Regions from separate parts of the Homo sapiens genome. Here regions 1, 2 and 4 are each linked to region 3. The links are contacts of gene promoters, found by promoter capture Hi-C in blood cells and fetal thymus (Javierre and others, 2016). All regions are on one chromosome and are shown on one strand. The core of a region is centred on a gene start or on the middle of the fragment in contact, and the rest is flanking DNA. Distances in the headings are between cores, read along the strand shown. Region 1 overlaps LRRC9 (leucine rich repeat containing 9). Region 2 overlaps PPM1A (protein phosphatase, Mg2+/Mn2+ dependent 1A). Region 3 holds the start of PCNX4-DT (PCNX4 divergent transcript). Region 4 has its middle 4.5 kb from the start of LINC02322.

Region 1 (2,700 bases), core at 84-2,583, 130 kb before region 3:
AATTTTTATAGTGTAGAATGTAAAACTTACACTAACTTTTTAGAAAAAAAAACTGTTATTGTTATGGGTTACTTTAAACCAAGTCCCCTGATTTCTATTAGACATGGCTTTTTTCTCACCTCTGTGAGTAAAAGCTTCTCAAAGGTCTTGGGAGAACTCTGATGGAAAAGTGTAAGAAGCTCTTCGCAAGGGAAAAAGAGGCCTTTGAAAATACTTTCCTTTGTATTAGTACATCCATTTGCCCAGCAGTTACTACTGTTTGCTTAACCACATTTTTTGATTTTTATATACAAAGATATAAAAGGTGTTCATCCAGCTCCCATGTAAACAAGTAAAGGCCTTGATTTTTCAAGTGCAAAAACTGAATGGTGTGTCTCTACTGGGTGCACATTTATATTCACTCAACCTAAACAGGATTTTTTTTTTTTGAGATAGAGTCTCGCTGTGTCCCCGAGACTGGAGTGCAGTGGCCCGATCTCAGCTCGCTGCAACCTCTGCCTCCCAGGTTCAAGCGATTCTCCTGCCTCAGACTCCCGAGTAGCTAAGATTATAGGTGCATGCCACCACACCCACTAATTTTTGTATTTTTAGTGGAGACGGGGTTTTGCCATGTTGGCCAGGCTGGTCTCAAACTCCTGGCCTCAAGTGATCTTCCCACCTCGGCCTCCCAAAGTGCTGAGATCACAGGCATGAGCCACTGTGCCCAGCTCCAAACAGGATTTTTAAAAATTATTTGTTTCTTTTTAAATTATTGCAGAGGAAACTCTTTGCAACAAGTGGATTAGTGAAAAAAAAAAAAATGTAAAAGCAAAATGACCAAAAAGCCATTTAGATAACTATGTCAGCCTGATAGTAAATTAGATAGCTTTGATGGATTTTGATTAGCATTAACCTGTTTACTTGGTTTTAATAAGAGTAACTTTGATTTGTTTTAAGGAATATATCAAATATATGTTAGCAGAATTTAAAGTACTGTTTTTTAGTTTTAGCATACTGCAAGCTTGGCTACTTTTCCTCTGATCTTTTATGTATGTTAAGAAATAACTACTAAGTGCTTTAAATTGCTATGCTACATTTCTAGTTGTTTTATTTAAACACTGACTTCTCCTATTAATATTTTTAAGGCTAAGGATTCAGTATTTAAATAAAAAGTATTTCAGTAGAACTAGGACTGAAAGATTTTCTGTTAAAATTATCTTTATGTCTTTAACAACAACAAAACACTGCATGTTTCTAATTGTATGTCATTATCTCTTAGCTTCATTTCTTTTATGAAATAAAATTATTATATTTTCCAGTTTACAAAAATCTTATTTTATAGAGACATGCTAGTTGAGTGGATTGTTGCTACTATACCTTTATTATTATAGATTTGTATTATTTACCGATGTGTTGCCAATTGAGTTACCCATTGACATCATACAACATTTATCAAGTAGGGACTTCAAAGCATAAAAGATGCTGTCCTTGTGCCTGAGAAGCTGTCAGCCTGGTCATAGATACAGTGTATTTACAACTAAAAAAAAAAAAACACCTTTAAAATACGACAAAACAATATATAAGTGACTCTGTAAGTTCCTTTGGGGAAGATATGATGTTTTGTGTCTTATAAGACATAACATCTAGCATGGGACTGGATTAATAGCCCAGTACATATTTACTAGTTGAAGCTTCCATATCACTTTATAGATACACAACAGTTTTGCTTTGGTGTATATAATGACTTTCAGTAATTAATCTGCCTCTTTATAAAGATTTCATGCTATACTATCTCAAGGAGCTACATAAGCAGAAACTTTCTGTTTTACAGGGCTTTGAAACTGTTGATTTAAGTCAGTAAGCCTGTAAAAGTATTTATTAAACCTTTATATAGGATTATAAAGTATATTTTAATAGATTACATTAAGCTTCAAACATTTAAAAACGTGTGTAGCCTACATTTGCTAAATGAGCACATTATTGTATATTAACAAAATGTGTAGGCATCTTTCTGTGTAACTGAATATATTAGTCATTGATATATATCATTGTGAATGTTTATACCTTCAAGTACCACTGAATGAATGAGGGTAAGGTACACAGTTCAGCTGACTCTAAAGGATTTGAACAGGAGTTATGATTAGTTTAGAGACCATACAGTGGAGAATATTGAATCCTCTACTGTAGGTGAAGAGTCTGAATGTAATTTGGAAGGTAACAAATGGCTGCAAAGGCTTTTGTTTTGTTTTATTGGCAGACTCTTCACCTACAGTAAAGGATCAGTGTTCTCCACTGTATAGTTTTAGACTATCATAACTTCTGTTCAACTCTTTTAAAGTCAGCTGAACTGTGTACCGCACTGCTCTTGAAGCAAACGCAGTACTCCACCACATAAGTGGTTTTGTTTGTTCTGTTTCCTTCACCCAGAATGCTTTTGCATACCTCACACTTACTTCATCATTGCTCAGCTGCTGAATTCCTGGGCAACATAAAATCTCCATGAAAAAATCACACTTCATAGCTCCTGCCTTCCTGGGGAACCAGCCTAGGAGCTAGGTATTGTTTATTCATTCCTTCCACCCATTCATGAGACGCCTCAAGCCCAATATCCCCTATATAGCAAAAACTTTATCTAAAACGCCTACAGCCCTAGTTTCTATCAGAGTGCAGAAAGCTTCCAGGACATGTTACTTAGGGGAAATTTGACAGATTTAGGCCCAG
Region 2 (2,700 bases), core at 9-2,508, 180 kb after region 3:
TCACAAATTAGGTTTTTTAAAATTTTCTTATATGTAAGTTGTCACCTAGTTTTCTAAGGTAAATCTTTTAGACTGTGACATCATGTTCTTGAGTACTTTTTTAGTTACTTTTTTATTTCAGAATTTTTGTATGGGTTCTATAAATTTTTTTCTGCTTTTTTACTTAAAGGGTGGCAGTTTTCTCTGTTGTTTGCCCAAAAATAACTAGCTACTCCTTGCCTGTTCTGTCATTATACTAGGATACCATTACCTCTTTCCCCCTTGGAATTTAACAGGCTGAATTATATTAAATTATTTTAGTTATCATATTTCATTATTTTTGAGAGAAATGATAGGGATTTTGTCCTATTAACCTGTTACAGGTAAGAAACTTTGTCTTTCTTGATTTTTCTCGATGCTTGTTGAAATTACTGATTATTTTAGTTATCATATTTCATTATTTTTGAGAGAAATGATAGGGATTTTGTCCTATTAACCTGTTACAGGTAAGAAACTTTGTCTTTCTTGATTTGTCTCTTGATGCTTGTTGAAATTACTGCACATTTTCATCTTTACAAGTTTGGCAGATTTTCTTTCCCAACAGAAGAACTTGACTATTGGGCATTCTGCTAATTTCCATGGCTGCTATAACAAATTATCACGAACTTGGTGGCTTAAAACAATACAGATTTATTCTCACAGTTCTGGAGGCCACAAGTTCAATATCATTTTCACGGGGACAAAATCACGGTGTCACCAAGAATGTGCTCACTCCCGAGGCTTTAAGGAGGAATCTGTTTCTTGCTTTTTTTCACCTTCCAGTGGCTGTCAGCCTCATCACTTGCCTGGTAGCCACATCACTCGAATCTTTAAGACCAGCGTCTTCAAATCTGTGTCTGCTCTGTCTTCACATCACCTTCTCTGTGTGTGTCAGATCTTCCCCTGACTCTCTATTCTAAGGACATGTGGGTTCACTTAGAGGTCTCTGGATAATCCAGGATCCTCTCTCCATCTCAAGATTCTTAATCACATCTGCAAAGACCTTTTTTTCCAAATAAGGTAACATTTATAGGATTAGGACTGGTATCTTTGGGAGTCATTATTCAGCCTACTAGGTATCATTTTGTTTTGCTACTTTAGAGTGAGGCAGACATATTAGTCAAAAATTGGATTAGAGTAAAGCCTCATAGATTGTGCTGTTTGTTAGAATCACAGATACTGTCCTCTTTACCGAATGATGCAAACTCTGATGCCATGGTGGAAAAGTATATGAATTGAATTGGATGTGGTCAATAAGGATTGCTAGGGACTCGAGAATGCATGTTGTTCTAGGGAGAGGAAATACGTGAAGGTCAAATTCAGGTTATCAGGTTATCAGTTTGTAACCTAGTTTGTAGCTGCTTTTTTCTTTTCATTTCTTACAAGCTGGTCTTGCTGTAGTAAAATAATTTTGTGTGTCTCTTATAATCTTGATATTGAGAATAAGAGGTTTTTTTTTTAATGGGAATTCCATCCACATGATTTTAAAGTATTACTTTACTAATGATATTTACCTAGGTATTCCTAGAACTTTAGTCTTCTCATGTAACATTTTATACATTTCTCAGAACAAGGTAATTGACAAATAATCAAGGTTGCTTATTTATTGATGAGGAAAGTTAGACATTAAGCCAAAGGACTTGTCCAGTATCGCATATTGGATAGACCTATAATTTTTAACTTTAATCTTGTGGTGACAGGTATTTCCATTTTTTTTTTTTTTTGATGTTTCATATGTGCTTTGATGTTGATGTGTCATGTGACATGAAGTGTCTCCCTATTGTTGGATAATTGGGCAAGTCTAAGTTCTTTTTACTTTATATTCCTGATTTTGTTTTTCTAGATGTGTTATTTTTACAGATTCAGGTTACTTCTTTTTTTAAATCATGTTATTAGAGTTAAACTAATGAAAAATCATATAGAGATGAACTTGGTTTTGAAATATAATGAGTAGATACTTGCTTGGCTGGAATTTTTTCTCACAAGTTTTTTATAAAGATGGTATGAGTGTATACTTTGTATCCAGGAATGTGTGTACACTAGGGGGAGTGTTGGGGGGATGAGGGTGGAAGACATTTTAAGACACACAGGAGGCTGGTGTGGTGGCTCATGCCTGTAATTTCAGCACTTTGAGAGGCCAAGGCAGGGGAATCACTTGAGGTCAGGAGTTTGAGACCAGCGTAGCCAACATGATGAATCCCCATCTCTACTAAAAATAACAAAAAATTAACTGGGCGTGGTGGCACATGCCTGTAATCCCAGGTACTTGGGAGGCTGAGGCACAGAATCACTTGAAGCCGGGAGCCAAGATCATGCCGCCACATCCCAGCCTGGGCGACAGAGTGAGACTCTGTCTCAAAAAAAAAAAAAAAAAAAAAAAAAGACACAGAAGACCCTAAGTGTACACTCAGATGCTCTTTATATCCATATCCATTATCAGTTTGGTGATACGTTATTCTAGTTTCATGAACCTTTACTCTTAGAACTTGGTTTATTCTCTAATATCTTTTGGATTCAGTTTTGCAGTTGAGATGGCTAATATCAATTTGATACTCTTTCCTTTTATGATTGCTCATGTTTTTGTCTAGAACCTTGCATTATAGTATTTTTTTTTCTTTTCCTTGCATTTCTATAGTTGTGAACAACTAGGAGTGGGTTTTTAGCAATTAATTCAGTGAGCTT
Region 3 (2,700 bases), core at 61-2,560:
AAATACAGACTCTCTACATAAAGATAATAGCTCATCCTTACTAAGCACTTAAGCTGTGCCATTTACTCTGCTAAGCAATTTACAATTATTTGATTTAATCCAATGACATAACTCTCTGCGGGTTAAGTTCTATTATTTGCCTTATTTTACAAGATATGGGGAAACTGAGCACTAGAGAAATTACATAACCTCAAGATCTCACAAGTAGTAAGCAGTAGTGCCAGGGTTTCAACCCAGACTTCCTGACTCTGGAGCCTCCACTCTTAATTACATGAAACTCAGACTTCTTGGCGGTAAGTGATGCTTCCGAGATGCTTAATGTGGTACTCTGACCCGCAATGAGTGAGCTTCAATGAGAAAAACTATGGATGGACCAACAGCACGTTTTCCCATATTCTATCAAATCGTGAAGATACCAAACTATGAAAGGGTCTACCTGCAAATTAAGTCCTTGAAGACAAGTATATGTATATCCGGGGTTTTCTTCCACATGCTTTCAACACACTACACTTTTGCTCTGGACACAATATCTTAAAAATAAATAAATAAAGCTTTGGCTTTTAATATGAACACAGTAATTATTTTTCTATTACGACCTGAAAACCTAAATACTTAAATACAAAGTCAGCATTTCCAAGACAGCCAAGAGCCAAGAATTAAAAAAAAAAAAAAATTAAGGCCGCATTTATAGTTTTGAGGAATGGAGATCCAAACAAAACAGTCCACAAGTCATCTTGGACGCTGAAGTGTGCAGAACTGCTAGGGCATCTACCCAATCACATGGGGGAATTGCGGGTACCTTGATACCGACAAGTTAGCTTCAAAGTTCCCTTACCCGAGCCTCTAAATCAGCTGAGACCAATCATTGTTAACGCTCTCCGGGGCCGTCTTGAGGACTCCCAGTTGGCAATCTGGAACGTGTCCAGAACTTGGTGGGGCGGGGGGGGGATCATATTTCGTGGAGAATGGGGGAGGTGAGCCCTGGGTATAGGGATAACTTTTTAACTAGCGTTAATTGGGGTCTTTGCGGCCAGGCTGTAAAGATTCCCGCCACACTAATATGAATCAGCCATGGCCTTTTAATTGGAACGCCGGAACTCTGCCTTGTTTTATTAATATCTTAATAACACGTTTCTATAATGGACATGTTGGTTCCTTGTATTTTAAAACGCAGCCACAAACTGAGGCGATAGCGATCACGTTATGCAGTCCCCAATCGTCCAAGCCGAATAGGCTGCATGAAGTATCACTCAAAAACATTCATTACCGTCGGTGTGTTGAGTGGTAACGCCAGTGTGCGAATTCATTAATGGAAATCACGGGACCCCGAGCGGTTGGAGATCTGCCACACCCCTCTGCCTGCGTTAAGACAGCCTGACCCGACCTCTGGTAAATTAATGCGCAAAATGGCGGTTGCACGTCTGTTTCCCCACCCCGGCGCACAATCCTGAGGAAGGACGTCACGTCACCAGGGCAACGACGCTCTTGCGTAAAGGCCCGGCCCAAGGGAACGTTCAGGGCGTCTCGGCTTTCCCCGCTGCTGCTTCTGCTAGGCCCAGTGCGAGACCAGAGCACGAGCGACTCCCGTCGTCCCCGGCCAGGCAGATGTTGGCCTAGTCCTGGCGCGAACGAAGCGCGCTATTTCCCTGCTTCCTCTAGGCCAAGCCTGCTTTACGGCAGGGCCCGCCTCGGGAGCGAGCACAGACCGGGGCAGCGAGGCCAGCCAGGCGCCGACGAGGTCCCCGAACGCGCACGCGCTCCGTTCAGCTCCGGGTGGCGGCCGCCGGAGTAGACGTTAGCCATGGAAACCGAGAGCTGGCCCGGGCGGGGCCGCGGTGAGCTCGTTATTCGGCCGCCGCAGCTTTTCTGCCTCCGCATTCGGGCACTAACCAACCTCCCGGCGGGAGCGCCCAGCCCGAGTTTACCTGCAAAAATGCGGTCCCTGGGATGCCTTCGCGTCTTCTCTTCCCTCGGGTGACTTGAGGTACGTTCGTTGTCCGACGTCCACCTCGGGACTTCTTCGGCATCTTAATGTCCAAGCCTGTGCGGAGAGCCAAGTTGTTCTAGGGGCTTTCATTGCCACAAGAAACATATTTTTCGTTTTTCGTTGCAAAACCTTTAAGTGCAATTATTGCGCTTAATGAACTCAGTCATTAGAGATAGTAATTCAGTGTGATTTTAACTTTCCTTTGAAAGACTACTTTAGCCTGTTGAATTGTAGCATTTTGTTTCTAAGAGACTCGTACGAAATGGAATATGGCACACCCACCCGGAGCTGTGTCCGTTAGGTAGAACTGTACTCTCGCAATATCTCCAACTAAACCTCTTTTGTCCGAATTGTTCAACTCATGGCCCCCTGAACGTGAAGCGCTCCTTCCCCACTGATCTCGACCTCTGTCCCCACAACCTCTTGTCTCTCCAGGACCAGAATTTACTCCAGTGAATCGGAAGTTGTTTTCCATGCCGCTGAATTGGTTATCTGCTCTGTATCCATCATTTTTCACTTACTCATTTTTTACTATTTTTAGGTGTTTGTTTTCTTCATTAAATCATTCCTGCAGTTAGGGCAAAGACTGCCCTTCATGTTATTTGGTATCCACCGCCACTCACGCCAAATCCCCAGACCTTTAGCATAGCATCCAGTTCAGATGTTGCCTTTTCACGAATTTAACTGTTTGTAGCATCTGTTGGCTGCTCCTA
Region 4 (2,700 bases), core at 35-2,534, 240 kb after region 3:
ATCTTCTGAACCTTTGCCAAGGTCCCCACATCCCTCTTTTATTGTGAGGTCCAGAACTAGACACAGTCCTCCAGTACAGCCCTCAACATCACTGAACAGCAGCACAAGGGATGTTTGTATTCTTCTGAATGAAAGGTACTGTTATAAAGAAAGTCAGAACATTCGAAGGGGGTGGGGGCGGCTTTGATGGCCAAGCAAAAGATTTCCTCATGCCTACACTCAGTCTGGGAGTGAATGAGCCAGTTACATAAGGAGAAAATCCTCCTTCCTAGTGTTGAGCTTTCCTAATTGGAGGACTAAATGTGTCATTATTTAACTAAATAATTAATAAGCTTTCTTGTAATTCATGGATGACTAAACAGATAAACTCACCTGTACCAAACTTTCAGAGAGAGTTCCACTGATTTAATAAATTTGGTTCATGTCATCAGCATAAAAGTCATCTGAACCTTGAGCCTCAAAGACCAGTGACCTCCAAACTTGACAACTCAACTTATAAGAATCAACTCGGCTGCTTACTAAACATATATAGATGTCTGAGCAAAGGTATTTGTGGTTTTTAAAAAACTACATCAATTCTTCTCAAACTTTAATGGGGGTGGTGATGTGGTGAGGGCAGGTCTTGTAAAAAATTTAGACTCCCATCAACAGGTCTGAGTAGGGCCTGAGATTCTGCATTCCTAACGATCTCAAAAGTGATACCGTGCCGCTACTTCATGGACCACACTTTTAGTGGCAAGGCCCTAGACAATTTTGATAATCAGCCAGTTTGGGAACCAGAACTTGAGGCATCATAAATGTTACCTGAAATATGAAAAAGCTAATCTCCGCCTCAATGTTTATCAGCAGCTCAGGGTGCATCAGTGAGTGTTACACAGACGGATACAAAATGTGGGTGGGCAAATTTAATTTCAAACGGTGGAAGAAACCTTATTGAGAATGTTTAATTATGTTCATGCTCCGCTAATACGAGAATAGAGTGGACTCTTAAGTTCCTTTATTTCTCTAGTGATCTATTCTTTAGAGTTCACCAGCAAACACAAAGGCGGGAGGAACCGTTACTTTAAATTCATATTATTTTAGCTGATGTATCTGGAGCACAGTGATAAATTAATCATGACGTCTGGTCTGATTCACAATCATGTTCTAGCCTAATTTACACTTTGCATTTGCAGAACTGAAATGCGATGCATTAAAATGGTCACACACCACGGATTTTTCTCCTCGCTGCACCCATGGAGGGAGGCGCTGTCTCCGCCTTTTCCTGTAAGCACCTGCCCGGGGCCCAAGCCCACAGTGGATGGCTCGTCCAGCTCAGAGAGCGCCCAGGACGCAGTGAGGAAGCAGAATTGGGCGCTCAAGACTCAGACCCGGACTGATGAGCTAAGACTGCTTGCAAGAGGGAGTGGGAGTCGTTAAAAAAATATCCTCGTGGCTTAATGACCAAGGCGGGTTTATTCTCAAGGAAGGGGGAGCGGCGTGGTGGTGTTACTAAACATAACAGATGGCAGCTGTCTGCGGCTATATAGGGCGCGCTGACAAATCCCTCTGGATGGCCACGCGGCGCTGGGCTGCGGGGCCTGGGTGCACTTCGCGCCTGGCTCGGAGGGCGCCGCCTGCGGGAGGACCTCCGGGAGCCGAGCTGCCTCCCCGCAAACCCGGCCCGGGCCCACGCGGGCTCAGGGCGCCAGGCGGGGTGCGCCGAGGTGCAGCTCCCCGGCCCTAGGCTTCGCTGGGGTGGGGGTCGAGGCCTCTCCGCGGGTGGCTCCCTCCACCCTGCCGCCCCGCCTCGCGGCTGGGAGTTGCCCGGGAGCTGTGAATTCACTAGACCAGCATTCACCCAGGGCCTGCGGGGGCTGTGAAAGGATGGGAGGACTCGGCTCCCCAACCCACCTTTACAAAGCCGAAGTGTGGCTGGTGAGGTACCCGACACGCACACACTGCACCGTGATACTGAACCATGCCTGAGTGTGCATTTTGTGCGAAATGGGTCTTAGCCATGATTTCCATGTGGTGAACATCTTTTCCAAACCCCGGATTGAAACACGATTATCAGGTCAATAACATTTTTTCTATGATTTGGAGATTGATTCAGATGGGCAAAATCTTACAAAGTTAATAATCTTATAAAAATCTTACATAATAATCTTAAGTCGCTTTTAGAGAGACATTTAAAAAATATGTCTATTGAAAATAATAAAATTCAGTGAAATTGGACAGGACTGTGGCAGTTGGGGAAGCTTCCTGGAAGATCGGGCAGAAAGAGAGCTTGCCAGTTTGGGCTTGGGATGGGCAAAAACAGAGGGGATTGAGAGTTCTGGGGACTCAATAACGTACATCACTGTGATTTTCAAGCGGCAAATTTCTTTAGAAAGGTAAGGCCAGACAGACTAATGGGAACTGTCCAAGGAGAGGGAACAGAGGAACCCTCTGCACTTTTGGGGCTATGGTCTCTGAAATCGGCTGCAAGGACCACCACCTAGGGGTCGTGTGGTGCATGTCATGTGCTTGGCTTTCTGCAGCAGTGTTGGAGAGTTCCATGGGAAAAGCCTCCTCTCCCCACCCCTCATCATCTCCTCGACCCCTTTCTCAACAAATGTCAGGGACTAAGGCTTCCTTATTTTCTCCTCAATCACCTTGCAGTGCTTTTCACTGAAGGTGAGAAAGGTTGAGGTTCATTCATTCATTTAACAAATGTTT

What was found. Contacts are between HindIII fragments. The CHiCAGO score rates a contact against its expected background, and 5 or more counts as called.
Region 1: a contact is called between a fragment that was not itself captured here and the fragment with the promoter of PCNX4-DT in region 3, in 1 of 17 cell types (total CD8 T cells). The highest score is 6.0, in total CD8 T cells.
Region 2: a contact is called between a fragment that was not itself captured here and the fragment with the promoter of PCNX4-DT in region 3, in 1 of 17 cell types (neutrophils). The highest score is 6.0, in neutrophils.
Region 4: a contact is called between a fragment that was not itself captured here and the fragment with the promoter of PCNX4-DT in region 3, in 7 of 17 cell types (fetal thymus, non-activated CD4 T cells, erythroblasts and 4 more). The highest score is 11.1, in fetal thymus.

Annotation. Positions count from the first base shown.
Region 1 is chr14:59,961,994-59,964,693 of GRCh38, forward strand. The region is part of intron 10 of LRRC9 (leucine rich repeat containing 9); the gene reads left to right. Among named protein-coding and RNA genes, the nearest start is that of LRRC9, 43 kb to the left of the region's middle. The HindIII fragment of the contact is 670 bases long and covers 999-1,668 here.
Region 2 is chr14:60,270,316-60,273,015 of GRCh38, forward strand. All of the region lies in intron 1 of PPM1A (protein phosphatase, Mg2+/Mn2+ dependent 1A), which reads left to right. Among named protein-coding and RNA genes, the nearest start is that of PPM1A, 22 kb to the left of the region's middle. The HindIII fragment of the contact is 5,154 bases long and covers 1-2,700 here.
Region 3 is chr14:60,090,436-60,093,135 of GRCh38, forward strand. PCNX4-DT (PCNX4 divergent transcript) reads right to left here and starts at 1,311. Exons shown (of 5, transcript XR_943918.4): 1 at 1,268-1,311. PCNX4 (pecanex 4) reads left to right here and starts at 1,488. Exons shown (of 11, transcript NM_001330177.2): 1 at 1,488-1,984. RefSeq lists enhancers at 1,309-1,438, 1,529-1,718, 1,682-2,315. The HindIII fragment of the contact is 2,213 bases long and covers 550-2,700 here.
Region 4 is chr14:60,326,341-60,329,040 of GRCh38, forward strand. No RefSeq gene overlaps it. Among named protein-coding and RNA genes, the nearest start is that of LINC02322, 4.5 kb to the left of the region's middle. RefSeq lists an enhancer at 1,409-1,468 and a silencer at 1,579-1,888. The HindIII fragment of the contact is 1,908 bases long and covers 331-2,238 here.